2 separate regions of the Homo sapiens genome follow, and region 2 is linked to region 1. The links are contacts of gene promoters, found by promoter capture Hi-C in blood cells and fetal thymus (Javierre and others, 2016). All regions are on one chromosome and are shown on one strand. Each heading gives the region's core, a stretch centred on a gene start or on the middle of the fragment in contact. The rest is flanking DNA. Distances are from core to core; before and after follow the strand shown. Region 1 holds the start of MYLK2 (myosin light chain kinase 2). Region 2 holds the start of XKR7 (XK related 7).

Region 1 (6,547 bases), core at 1,330-3,829:
TGGTGTAACATTGGCCCCTACAGTCCCTTCTGAGGATCCAGGGAGCTGGATCTTTGGCATAGTCTGGCCTGGCCGTTGGTGGGCACTCAATAAATGACTGGTATTGATAACCACAATAATAACAAGGAGATGCCAGCAAGGTCCAGCATAGGGAGGTAACAAACTCCAGTCTGGAGCCTTCTGGTTAATCAGTTATTTACTCATCAGACACTGATGGGCAAGTCCACTCTGTGCTGGGGATGTGTTTAGCCCCTGGCCTTCAGGGGGCTCCCAGACAGTGTCAACCAATGGTGGGATCAGCTGGGGCACTGTGGGGAGGCCAGAAGCAGGGGACCCAACATTCCAAATTAAACTAAAACATGCTCTGGGCCAGATAGAGGGCCAGGAGGTCCTAATGATCCGCATTAGGACAGGAAACATTTCAACCTTTTGAATGCTGCAAGATCCACAAAGGGGTTACTCAGCAGGGAGAAGGGGGCAAGGCACAGGCTGGGACATTTTAGGAAGGGAAGAGGGCTTTGGAGTTTGAAGAACGACATTCCAAGCTCAACTCCCTTCCTTGCTGAGTGACTTTGGGCAAGCTACTGATTCCTTTAACTCTCCTCGTCCTCATGCAGAAAATGAGATGAGCGCTCCCCACAGAGTTATCATCAAGATGATGCTTAAAGGCAAGATGGCTAAAACGAATGACAGGTGCTCAGCAAGTGGAAGCTCCCTTTCTGCAGGGGACCTGGGTTCAGAGCTCAGTTCAGCCCCTTCCAAGCTGTGACTTTGAGTAAATTACATAACCTCTCCATGCCTTGGTTTCCCCATCTCTCTAGTACCTACCGCACTGGGTTCTTCTGAAGACCATTTGGGTGGATCAACATGAGAGCATGCAGAGCGAGGCCAGGCACGTGGTCAGTACCGTATAGGCATCAGCTGTTACTTTTGCTTCCTGGAAGAGGCAGACTGTTAACTGGACCTTAAAGAAGAGAAATGGAGGAGAGGAGGACCGGGCCTGGAGAGGAGGGCCAGGCAGAGCAAAAGTAGTCAAGACTGGGGAAAGAGCTCCAACTATGGTTTTTACCAGCTTATACCAAAAACCCTTGACATTTGCTCACAAAACAAAACATCCCACTCATTTTGAATAGTAGCCTGTTCACATAGTTCATGGTTCAAACAGAAAAGTCAAAGTATATACAGTGATGTCTCCTTCCCACCCTTGGGGCCCAGTTCCTTGCTTATCCTACCAAATAAATTCTTATGTGCATAAAGTGAAATATATATTATTCATATATTATTCTCCCTTTTTTTTTTGCACAAATGGATAGCACACTCTACATGCTACTTTGCATCTTGCTTTTTTTATTCCCCCCACTTTGGTGGTCACTTTTTGTCAGTTCATTAACAGCTTCCTCAATCTTTTTTTACAGGTTCCTATTTCCCCACTGCTTAGAGGGGCTGCATTCTCCCTCCTTTCTCTCATCAAGCGTTTTTCCAATGGCTTCCCATTTGACAGAGGAGCCGAGGCCATGGAGTGAAGTGACTGGTTTGCTGCAGTCAGGACCTGAACCTGGATAACCACTCTACAGCTACTTCATTTTATCTTACTTTTTAAAATATAAAGACGGGGTCTTGTTATGTTGCCCAGGCCAGTCTCCAACTCCTGGCCTCGAGTGATCCTCCTGCCTCAGCTTCCCAAAGTGTTGGGATTACAGGTGTGAACCACTGCTTCTGGCCTCTACAGCTACTTCTAATGCACCCAGGTCTGGCCAGTTCTCAAGAGCCCCCTCTGAGAAAGGCTCTGGGTGATGGAAGGCTCCTTGGATCATAGCTGTCCTCATCCTATCTCGAACACCTCAGGCTAGAGTGCCCCTCGGGCCACCCCTGTAGTGGAGCATCCTTGAAAAGACTCTCTGCCAGCCCCCTTCTTCCATGTGGGTCATGGGTGAGAACTGGATGAGCTTGGGGGAGGGGCACAGAGCACTCTCCATCTCCCATGGCTACTCAGGGCAGCCTCCGTGTCCCCAGGAGCCCAAGAAAAGGACAGTTTCAAAAGAAAAAGCTTCCAGGCCTATGGACATGTTGAGAAAGTGCCCCCGAGACAATTTCTTACCCAAAGGTGACGCAAGCAGGTCCAGATGTCGAGGCACAGAGCTAGGCACTAGGGTCAGGGAGATTATCCCTGGGACTTTGTGGCTCTAGCCAGGTTCTGGGGAGCCCCAGGAGATGTGGCACACAGGTGGGCAGACCAGGGCTCAGCCTGGGCATACTCTTGCCCTTCAGGCCTGCCTGAGTACTCCCCTTCTTCCAGGCCCCCTCTGATCCTGTCCAAGTCAGGGATACTGAGCAAGGCCTGGGGAAAGGGCTGCTCCCCCAGCGTCCCAGATACCCCTCCCTTTTCTCGCTTGTTCCAACATCATTCTCCCCCCAGTCGGGCCATGGGAAGAATGCCGTGTCCTCTGAACTGGGGCCAAGAGTGACAGGTGGCGGCAGTCCCAGCTGCATGGCCCCTGGTGTAAGAGATCCTCTCCTCCGTCCCCGCCTCCACTGCCCACACCCCTGCCTCCGCCTCTGCCCACCCGGCCCAATCCCTTACAACTGCCCAGGACTGCTCCTGAGCAGCCGCTGGGAGACAGACGGCAACCAGGTTGCCCCTCTTTGCTCCAGGTACCTCTCTCCCCTCAGTTAGCAGGCCTCGGCTTCCTGTCTCACTGCAGCCAGACGAGAGGGGAAATTGGACAGCCTGACACACTCCACTCTTGTTTCTGCAGCTAGAAAGACTTGAGTTAGACAAGCAGCAGCACACGCCTCCCTACCTCATGGCGACAGAAAATGGAGCAGTTGAGCTGGGAATTCAGAACCCATCAACAGGTGCCAAGCTGGGGCAGGAGATGGAGGGAGGAGCTTGGGAAGGGGGGTTTTGAATCCAGGACTGGGCAGGTTCCTCAGTGGGAGTTCTGTGCCCCAGCCTTGTTTGCATGGTGCACGGGGGACCCAGAAATCAGAGGAATCTCTGGCTAGGGTTGGGCTGGGTCCAGGGCCTGTATGAAGCCCTTCCTGGAGAGACCAGGAAAATGTGAAGCCACCAGGGATGGCTGCTGGGGATGCACCTAAACAGTCAGGGCAAGGATGATGGGGGCCACCAAGGCCCACCCAAAGGGCTGGAAGCCTCCCACAGAGGCCCTCCAAGGTCGTGGCAGCTCATCTCTAGGGGCCATCAAGTGGCCCCAGAGACTCAGTGGGACAAGCATTTGCAAGTTGTTGCCTGGGTGGGAACCTGGGCCCAGAGCTGGTCTCTGCCCAGCCTGGGTGAGAGGGAAGGAAAGGAGGGTGGATCCTGATGGGTGTCTCACCTCCTCTGCAGACAAGGCACCTAAAGGTCCCACAGGTGAAAGACCCCTGGCTGCAGGGAAAGACCCTGGCCCCCCAGACCCAAAGAAAGCTCCGGATCCACCCACCCTGAAGAAAGATGCCAAAGCCCCTGCCTCAGAGAAAGGGGATGGTACCCTGGCCCAACCCTCAACTAGCAGCCAAGGCCCCAAAGGAGAGGGTGACAGGGGCGGGGGGCCCGCGGAGGGCAGTGCTGGGCCCCCGGCAGCCCTGCCCCAGCAGACTGCGACACCTGAGACCAGCGTCAAGAAGCCCAAGGCTGAGCAGGGAGCCTCAGGCAGCCAGGATCCTGGAAAGCCCAGGGTGGGCAAGAAGGCAGCAGAGGGCCAAGCAGCAGCCAGGAGGGGCTCACCTGCCTTTCTGCATAGCCCCAGCTGTCCTGCCATCATCTCCAGGTGAATATCCCCTCCTGGGAGTGGGGAGGGGTCCTGTGGTTCTGTCCCTAGGGGTCCTGCTTAATTCCCTTGTCTTAGGCATGGTTATCATCACATTCAGTGCTGGGGAGTGTAGTTCTGACATTCAGTTTCCTCTGTCCTGTGAATTGCCTCTACCGCCTTGTCCCCTGCAGAAACCAGAACCCTGCCACAATTCATACAAGACTGGAGTAAGAGAGACCCTCAAAGACTGCCTAGGTTGAACATATCTTCTCTAGGCTTCTGGGGTCCGAAGTTCCCCTTACTCCATGGGCTTGGGTCTAGCCAAGGGCAGGGTTGAGATGGCAGGCAGAAAGGCTAAAGGTGTCAGGCAAAAGGCTGTGTATTTCCTAGGACATCCAGTATTTTCCTGTTCTTCTTAATATAATTATTGGTAAGATATGAAAAGATGACTAATAACCAGATTGGAGGATCATTGATAATATTTTCATAACCATAATATAGCACATGTGTGATGCCATCAGTTATACTTACCTGAATGCTAATGAGGTCATTAATGATATATTGTAAGCCACAATAAGAACATTTACCATATCACTTTGATAATTATGTATCAATTATATCACAACAGATTTTATGAATCAAGAGCTACATAACTCCCTAGTTGTATCCACATGATGATTAACCATATCAACAATCCTATTAATAGTTATTAATGATGTATTAGTGTGTTGGTAGTCAAGATAATGACCACAGCCATGAACATCCCTTAATTTTGTACCAGGTGAATTTGGCTGTATTACACCATGCATTTGGGGTGGGGTTGGATTAGCTCTGCAGATTGCATTGAGACTTGCCTGATGCCACAGGCTGTGGCCGCTGAGGGCTTCACCTCTGTGTTCTCACCTTCTAGTTCTGAGAAGCTGCTGGCCAAGAAGCCCCCAAGCGAGGCATCAGAGCTCACCTTTGAAGGGGTGCCCATGACCCACAGCCCCACGGATCCCAGGCCAGCCAAGGCAGAAGAAGGAAAGAACATCCTGGCAGAGAGCCAGAAGGAAGTGGGAGAGAAAACCCCAGGCCAGGCTGGCCAGGCTAAGATGCAAGGGGACACCTCGAGGGGGATTGAGTTCCAGGCTGTTCCCTCAGAGAAATCCGAGGTGGGGCAGGCCCTCTGTCTCACAGCCAGGGAGGAGGACTGCTTCCAGATTTTGGGTAGGCCAGGGGCAGGTGGGGGCTGGGGCTGCCCTGGGGCCAGGGGGAGGGAAGGGGGCTGTCAGTCCCAAGTCTACCTATTCGGAGGTCTGAACTGCCCTGAGCCAAGCCTTACCCAGGCCCATTCATCTAAGGGTCACACAACTCCAGAAAGTATTCCTTTTTTAACGTATGTTTATTCATTTGTTTATTTGTTTTAAAAGATAGGGTCTTGCTACGTTGCCCAGGCTGGCTTCAAACTCCCAGCCTCAAGTGATCCTCCCACCTTGGCCTCCCGAGTAGCTGGGACTACAGGCGTGTACAACCATACCTGGCTTTCTTCAATCTTATTTTTTAAGATGTATTTTTATTTTTAAATTTAGTATTCCCTTTTGATAGATGGGGAAAGGAAGGCTCAGAAAAAGGAAAATGAAGTGCCCAAACATATCCAGTGAAGACAGGATTTGAACCTGTCAGGCCACCCAGACTCCAGAACCCACTTTTGAGTTTTTTCTACTTTGACTAAAATGAAGTTAAAAAAAAGAAAAATCAGGCAGATTATTGGAGCAACACAAACTCCCTGGGCAATGGAATTTGGAGTCAATCTGTAGAAGGGCTCAAATGCCAGGCTTAGTAGCTAAACTGTATAGTGGGGTGGGGTCGTGGGAGCTATAGAGGGCTCATGCGCTGAGGAGCACAGGTGCCTGTGTGTGGGAGCAGTGACCAAGGAAGCTGGGCATGTGCAATGGGGCAGGACTGTGGAGTGGCCTTCATTGATGATTAGACAAGCAGCCCGTGGCTTGTTCATGGGCTGCAGAGAGCACTGAGTGTGAGTGAGCTTGGCCAGCAGGTGAATAGGGAAAGGGCCTGGGCAGGGGTGCGGCAGGGCTGGGGGTGGGGTGAGATGGGGTCAGGAGAACCCAGAGTGTCCTGACACCCCCCTGCCTCCAGGCTGAAGTGCCCTGGGAGACCCGCCAGCCTGCCTGGTGAGCGGCACCGTGCCACCCAGACAGGGTGGGAGGACCTGGCGGCTGGGCGGCAGCCAGGAGCCCTGCCTCCGCCCCTAGCAGCCGCAGAGACCTCCGCCCCGCCCCGAAATCGCATCCTAGAGTGACAGGATCTGAACCACCTCCAAAGGCCGTTTGATTTATCACCAGCCCGGCTTCCCTGCCGCCTCTTGCTATTTATAAAGAGGTTTCCATTCCTGATGACCGCCTGCCGGCCTGCCAGCCTTCAGGGCGAGCGGTTCCCCACACTTGCCGCTAGGTGGCGCCCTCTCCCCACCAAACAGCACGGTCCCCGGTCCCGCCCCGCCATGGGTGGTCTGGCCAGATTGCGGTGTTATTAGGATGGAGGGTGGGCAGGTCCCACCACCTACCCCATTATTCAGACATAGCAACCCCACTGCCTGGCATTCCGCTTTATAGCTGCTGTGTTTGATTGTTTTTGGTGGAAATGCAGATAGCTTGGGATGGAGTCCTTGTGTCTTATAATGCAGAGGGTCCAAAAAGTCCAAGCTCCCATCCCGTTTGTTCTGCCAGGAGAAGCTGGTCCTCCCTGATAGGAGTGTTGTGTTGGTGGCAGAACTGATATTGGAAACTGGGCCC
Region 2 (6,547 bases), core at 2,720-5,219, 150 kb after region 1:
TCATCCTCTCTTCCCTGCCACTCTGAGGCAGGTTGGTTCTCCCACTTCCCTTCCTCAGCTCCTCTTTCTTCAACCCCTACCCTTTGCCCCTCCTCTCTCCCTCCCCTTGAAGGGTAGCAAAGCCTATTCTGGAGCCAGATGATGGGCATGAATTTGGCTGTAGCTACTAATTGTGTCACCCTGAACAAATTAATTTCTCTGTGACTTAGTTTCTGCATCTGTAAAATGGGAGGAAAAAAGGAGCTACCTCACAAATTGTGAGGGTAGAATGAGTTAGTAATTGTAGTGTTTTGGACAGTGCCAGGCAAAGAGACACTACTATATGGATGTTTGTATAATAAATGCCTGGATACATCCAATCTGATCAAAGGCAGAGATGGGAAATGAGCTTGGGGTATCCAGGATGTGTGGGAACTCCACCCCCTCTCATAGGTTACTGCTATAATCTCCTTCTGGTCTCACCAGCCCCAGGCTGCTTCCTTGTGATCGCTTCTCTACTCTGGCTGCTGGGTCTTCTTTCTAAATCCTGATGTGACCACATAACTCCCCTGCTCAAATACTGCAGTGGTTCCCCATTGCCTGCTGGATAAAGGCCACCTTCTGGCCCCTTAGGATCTCATCCTCAGAACTCTGCAGCCCTATCTTCCCCATCTTTCTCCTCCCCTGGATCTGAGATCCAGACTTGCTTGAAGATATGCCCTCCAGTCTCAGGCCTCCAGGCCTTTGCACTTGCTCTTTCCTCCACCCGGTGTTTCCTCCCATCCCTTTCCTCTTGATGTTGGATGTTGTCCCCTTCCCTCCCCCTACTCTACTAGGGCTGTAGCCAGATGAAGGCAGTCCCCGAGAGAGGGAAAGCGGAGAGTAAGGAAGAGACAGCAACTCAGAGCTGCAGCTTTCTCAGCTTCAAAACGAAGACAATAAGAAAAGGGGACCCCTCAAGATCAAAGGAGGGGATGGAACAATATGTGAGCACTCAGGAAACTGGAAATGAGCGTTAGCATGGAGTGACTGCTAAAGGGTTACTGGGGGGCCCGCCCAAGTCCCCCAGCTCCTTTCTTCCAAGTCCCCCACCCACCCCCCCGTCAGACCCAGGCCACTGGAGGTGAACACAGGAGAAAAACGAAGTGGAGAGAATGGGAAGGGGGAGGCGATAAACAAAAAAGAAGGAAGTGCAGTCCGAGGGGAGATGAGAGACAGAAAGCATGGGGTTGGAGCCCCGCGCCTCCGAGGAAGGAGGGAGAGGGTGACCTGGGGTGCGCCCCGCCTCCCCTGCTTCCGCATTCCCGGGGGCTGCCCCCCCTTCGGCCGCAGCTCAGGCGGGTGGGGGCGGGGCGGGGCGGCGCCGAGGAGAATGAATAATTGAAGTGGAGGGGAGGAGGAAGAAGAGGAGAAGGAGGAAGAGGAGCCGCCCGCGCAGGGTCCTCCCCACGCCGCACCCCCCTCCGCCGCCCGGAAGTCGCTCCCCGCCTCCCTCTCCGCCAACATGGCCGCGAAGTCGGATGGAGCGGCGGCCTCGGCCAGCCCGGACCCGGAGGGGGCTGCCGGTGGAGCCCGGGGCAGTGCCGGCGGGCGCGGGGAGGCGGCGGCGGCGGCCGGGCCCCCGGGGGTCGTCGGGGCGGGCGGCCCGGGGCCGCGCTACGAGCTGCGGGACTGCTGCTGGGTGCTGTGCGCGCTGCTCGTGTTCTTCTCCGACGGTGCCACGGACCTGTGGCTGGCGGCCTCCTACTACCTGCAGAATCAACACACCTACTTCAGCCTCACCTTGCTGTTCGTGCTCCTGCCCTCGCTGGTCGTGCAGTTACTGAGCTTCCGCTGGTTCGTCTACGACTACTCGGAGCCCGCAGGGTCCCCGGGACCCGCCGTCAGCACCAAGGACAGCGTAGCCGGCGGAGCCGCCATCAGCACCAAGGACAGCGCCGGCGCCTTCCGGACCAAAGAAGGCAGCCCCGAGCCGGGTCCCCAGCCTGCGCCCTCCTCGGCCAGCGCCTACCGCCGCCGCTGCTGCCGCCTCTGCATCTGGCTGCTGCAGACCCTCGTCCACCTCCTGCAGCTCGGCCAGGTCTGGAGGTAGGAGAAGCGCAGGTGGAGGGACCTGAGCCCGAGGAGTGGGGGTGGCGAAGGGCTACCTGACGTCCCAGCCCTGATCTGACCTTTCCGGGCTACCCTCCTGTCCTGACCTCCCCCCCTCCCCACCCCATTGCAGCTCTAATTTCTTCTCAGTCGGCTTCTCCCTGACCTCTGCCCCCAAGCCCTGACCAACCCCAGTGCCATCCGGTCTGACCTGGCCTTCGAGAGGGGAGGGGATGGTTCAAGAAAGGAGAGAAAGAGATCCTCAGGGGTGTGCGTGAGTGGGGAGGACCCGGGGCTCATGAAGATAAATGTGAAGCTTAAAACAGGACCACAGGGCCCTATTCTGCCATAACCCACTCCTCTCTGCCTGAGTGCCAAGCCTGGGCTCAGGAAAGATCTCAGAAGTCCTTTCCTGCTCGCAAAGATCCTCAGTTCAGAATTGCAGCTCATTCACAACCTGCAAGGAGAGTCACAGAATTTGAGACAGCTAAATGAATATCCCGCCTAAACTTCTTGGACTTTTTGGAGAAAGATATGCTGGACCCAACTGGGGAGCCCTCAGGCTCCTTCTACTTCCTATGACCCCCTCTCCCCCAGCTAAGGGTCCTCCCCTTCCAACAGGGCCAAGGGGATTTGGAATCTTGAATCTGAGATTAGATGGCCACTGGCTGCCCTTTAATCCCGAACTGGTAAGGCAAAACTGAGGCTTTGTTCAAGCTGCCCACTTTCAGTCTTCTTCCTCTGCCAGAACTGAGGGTGCCTGCTGCACTGAGTTAAGTGGAGAGAGGAGGAATTCTAAACCTAGGGCTCCTCTTGAATCTGAATTGCTATTTAGTAGCTTAGGCCCTTCTGTGCTCTAACAGAATGAACTTGCTTACTATATGATCTTAGGCAAGCCGCCCTCCTCCTTCCAAGCCTCAGTTTCCTCTTCTGTGAAATGAGGGAGAATCCCTACTCCTCTTATCTCATTGTCTTATCATTGCATTATTCTTACCTGTTGGGATGGTCAGGTGAGAGGTCTGCATGAGGGCCCTGCAGACTGTAACATTTTAAGAGTGTGGGGAAAGCATGGAAAAAGTCACTCTAGAGATATAAAGGGTGATTACTGCTGTTGTTATATTTATTCTGCTACTTGTTAACACATTCTGCCTAACTCAGAAGATTCAGTTTGGGGCTGAGGGTTGAAAACAGGACTCCTAGGGTTTGTCCCAGCTGCTCACTTGCTGTGTCACTCTTGTTGTGTTGTCGAATCTCTCTGCCTTTGTTTCCCTATCTATTCCTGCCAAGATGATGTGTATATTCCACTTAGCTTATCCTGGAGGAAAAGGGGGCGGAGCTCTATCCACACAAGGTGGTGTTATTATTATTAGCGTGACACATAAAAATATTCATGTCTACATCCAGGAACTAATCTGCATTTATCATTCTGTGCCCGAGTGGACAGATGGTGAAAGATATTTTTAGATTCTGAAATGGTAACTTCCTATTCTTGGTAGGAAGCTTCATCCCCCTTTTCCTTCAGCCTAAAGTGGGCCAGATGCCCCTCGACTCACTGGCTATCCCCCCATTCAGAATCCACTTACAAGAAACTAATACTTCTCTTCTTTGTTAAGCATAAACTGAGTTTCCCTCAAATAGGGCAAAAATGGCCATGGGTGTGGGGTCCCAGGGGAGTAGCTAGAATTGCTAAGGATCCCCTCAGCTCTATGGTTTCTTGGATATGGATAAAAGGACTAGCTATTTCTACTATCTCCCATTTGCAAAATGAGGAGGCTGGGATGAGATAAGTTTGTAGGGATAACAATCTAATAGCTCTTAGGTTGAATGTGGCTTGTGGAAGTGTTTTGTGTGGCTTGCATAGTATTTTAAAAACCCAGAGTCGTAGCTTCCCTTTAAAAAAATTGGATCTAGCAGTATCAATCCTGTAACAATTTAGAAAGAGTCTATGTGCTCTAATTTGTCCATCTTTCCCTTTGATCATATCTGTACTATTTCACTTAGACATGAAAGCCCTAATTTACAGTTCTATAACAATTATTTTATTAAACACTGACTTTGTGCCAAGCCTACTGGTTGCCTTTTTACCTGCTTTATTTCCTGTACCCCTTCTAATCATCCTGTCATGTGGTTAGCATTATAATTTCTACTTGACAGATGAGGGAATGGAGGCTCAGAGAGGGGGCATCCTTGTCCAAGGTCACACAGCTAGGAACTTGAAGAGCTGAGACTCCAGGCTCTCTGCCTTTAAAGCCTGAGTTCAATTTATCCACCTTGTAATTCTGCCACTAAAGTGTCCCTCAAGCTTAAAGAAGTATGAATCTGAGATTCCAAGATTCCAGTATGATAGAAAGTCAGGGCTTCTGTTGCACTGAGATAAGAATGTGAAAAGAGGGGCAGGGAGTTGAACTATGTGGGTGAGGACGGGAACAGTGTGTATTGTGGGGAAAAGGCTGGATTCGGGGGTGGTCTGGTCAGGAGGCTGACATCTTTATCCTAGTTTGTAACTATAGTTTGCTGGGTGACCTTGGGCAAGGCTCTTTCCATCTTTGGGTCTCGGTTTCCCTGTGTGTGAAATGAGATTCAATGTGATGACCTTAAGAGTTTCCCATTCCTGAAATTCTGACTCTGGGTCTATTGCCAAAGCAAAAGCCTCTGGGCCCTTGCCCCCAAAATCTTTGGATTCTAAAATGGCTAAGGGCCTGGATAAATGGAGGGAAAACCCAGAGAAGGTATAGAGAAGCTGCAGGGGCTGGCATTCCTAGAAATTAAGCAATGTTGGCCCAGCACATTTGCTTACCACGTGAGATGTTCCCACAGATGTTCTGAGTGGTGGGGCCTGGGGTAATGAAGAGGGAGATGTGTGATTGAGTCCTCCAGAATCACACCTGGGAGGCTAGGCAGTCACTCACCTCCTGATCCCATTTCCTCAATTCTGAATAAAATAATTATAATCATGAAGATATTTTTCAACCTCTTAGACTTGTAAAATCCTGAATTAAAAATTCAAATGCTTTGAGGACCCAGGCAGGTAACAGACCATAAGACCATAAGATACAAGGGGTGTCAGACAAGAGGACATTCAGGGGCAAGTAGTGTCCGAGGAAAAGGGAAGCTCCAGCTGATCATGCCATGAGAAATCGTGGACCCAGTCTTGATTTCTCAAGAGAAATGGGAAATTGGGATTTTTCCGTGAACTCTCCAAAATTTAACTACTAATTAAAATGTTTAAAAATAGTGTCAACCAAAGGAAACATATTTATTAGCCTGTCTTCTTTGTAACCTCTGGTTTAGCTCTTCAAATTGATAAGGTCTTTTCACACAGAAGATTTTATTACTAATTTAAACATAAAATGAAGCTCTGAAGAGAGAGAGGAGGAGAAAGCATACACAGACACTGCACACCTACCGTGTCCCCACAGGCCCTGTGTGAGTGTTTCAGGCATGTGATCTCATGTTACTCTGAAACCCTCCCCCCTGGTGACTATTGATATACCCATTTATCAGATAAGGAACCTTGTCCAAAAGTCACCCACTGAGGAAGTGAGGAAAGGTGATCAGTCCCAAACCTAGCTCTATCTTTTACACCACACACTGGCTACTTTGGGACATGCCAGAACAATATCTTTGTGCACAGAGAGATTGAACTCTGAGGGAACAGCAAACAGATCCTCTGGCGGGGCACGAAGCTGGCTGTGGCCTGGACACCAACCTGCAACTTCATCCCTCCCTTCCCTTTAAACTCTCTGAGCTGTTAAACTGCCCAGGGTTCTTAAGCTAATTAAAGTCCTAACCCTGTCCCCTCTGACCCTGTAGGCAGCAGAGCAGTAAGCCATGAATCCTGCTTTTCCTAATCTTGAGCTCAGTGGGCCCCAGCTTCACCCAGATAAGCATGGTTTGCTAAGCCAATTAGTGGGAGACGATCTGACATGGGATTCCTGCCAGGCTTTCGGGATCTGGGAACCCCAAAATGGGGAGAAAATTAGGCAATTGGGATTTAGGGGCCCTCCCTCTAATGCCCTCTCTATGCATAGGCCCAGACACTGCACTCTATGTCACCTAAGAAGCCCTGCATGACAGAGAAGTTCTGGAATGAGTTAGTGACCTATTGGAAGGAAATGTCAGGCTCTGGATTTCCCCTCTGGGAAACTACATTCTTGGCATAACGGTTGAGAGGGTTGAGAGCACGGACTCTAGATTCAAGTGTCCTCAGTTTAAATCCAGACTTTACTACTTCTTATATGTGACCTTGACAAGGCAAATAATCTCTCATCCGTTGTAAACTAGGGACCAAAATTGTACCCACCCGCCTCTTAGGTTGTTTCAAGGTTTAATGAGATAATGTGTAAGGGTTCAGCAAAGGGCTCATTCCATCGTTAAATGCTCAGAAACTGCTGGCAATGATTAGTGCATTAGCTTGGGCTTTGCTCCCTGTGGAACAAAGCTTTGTTCACGGAGCACATGGCAGGACAGCAAGGGG

The links. The method cuts DNA at HindIII sites, captures the fragments that hold promoters and counts their contacts. A CHiCAGO score of 5 or more calls a contact.
Region 2: a contact is called between a fragment that was not itself captured here and the fragment with the promoter of MYLK2 in region 1, in 1 of 17 cell types (megakaryocytes). The highest score is 6.6, in megakaryocytes.

Annotation. Positions count from the first base shown.
Region 1 is chr20:31,816,777-31,823,323 of GRCh38, forward strand. MYLK2 (myosin light chain kinase 2) reads left to right here and starts at 2,580. Exons shown (of 13, transcript NM_033118.4): 1 at 2,580-2,652; 2 at 2,757-2,856; 3 at 3,350-3,770; 4 at 4,663-4,961. The coding sequence starts at 2,805. RefSeq lists enhancers at 3,064-3,605, 5,935-5,994, 6,462-6,547 and a silencer at 6,295-6,344. The HindIII fragment of the contact is 6,141 bases long and covers 2,046-6,547 here.
Region 2 is chr20:31,966,693-31,973,239 of GRCh38, forward strand. XKR7 (XK related 7) reads left to right here and starts at 1,459. Exons shown (of 3, transcript NM_001011718.2): 1 at 1,459-2,067. The coding sequence starts at 1,484. RefSeq lists silencers at 1,732-1,909, 5,474-5,768 and enhancers at 5,384-5,885, 5,886-6,385. The HindIII fragment of the contact is 802 bases long and covers 3,569-4,370 here.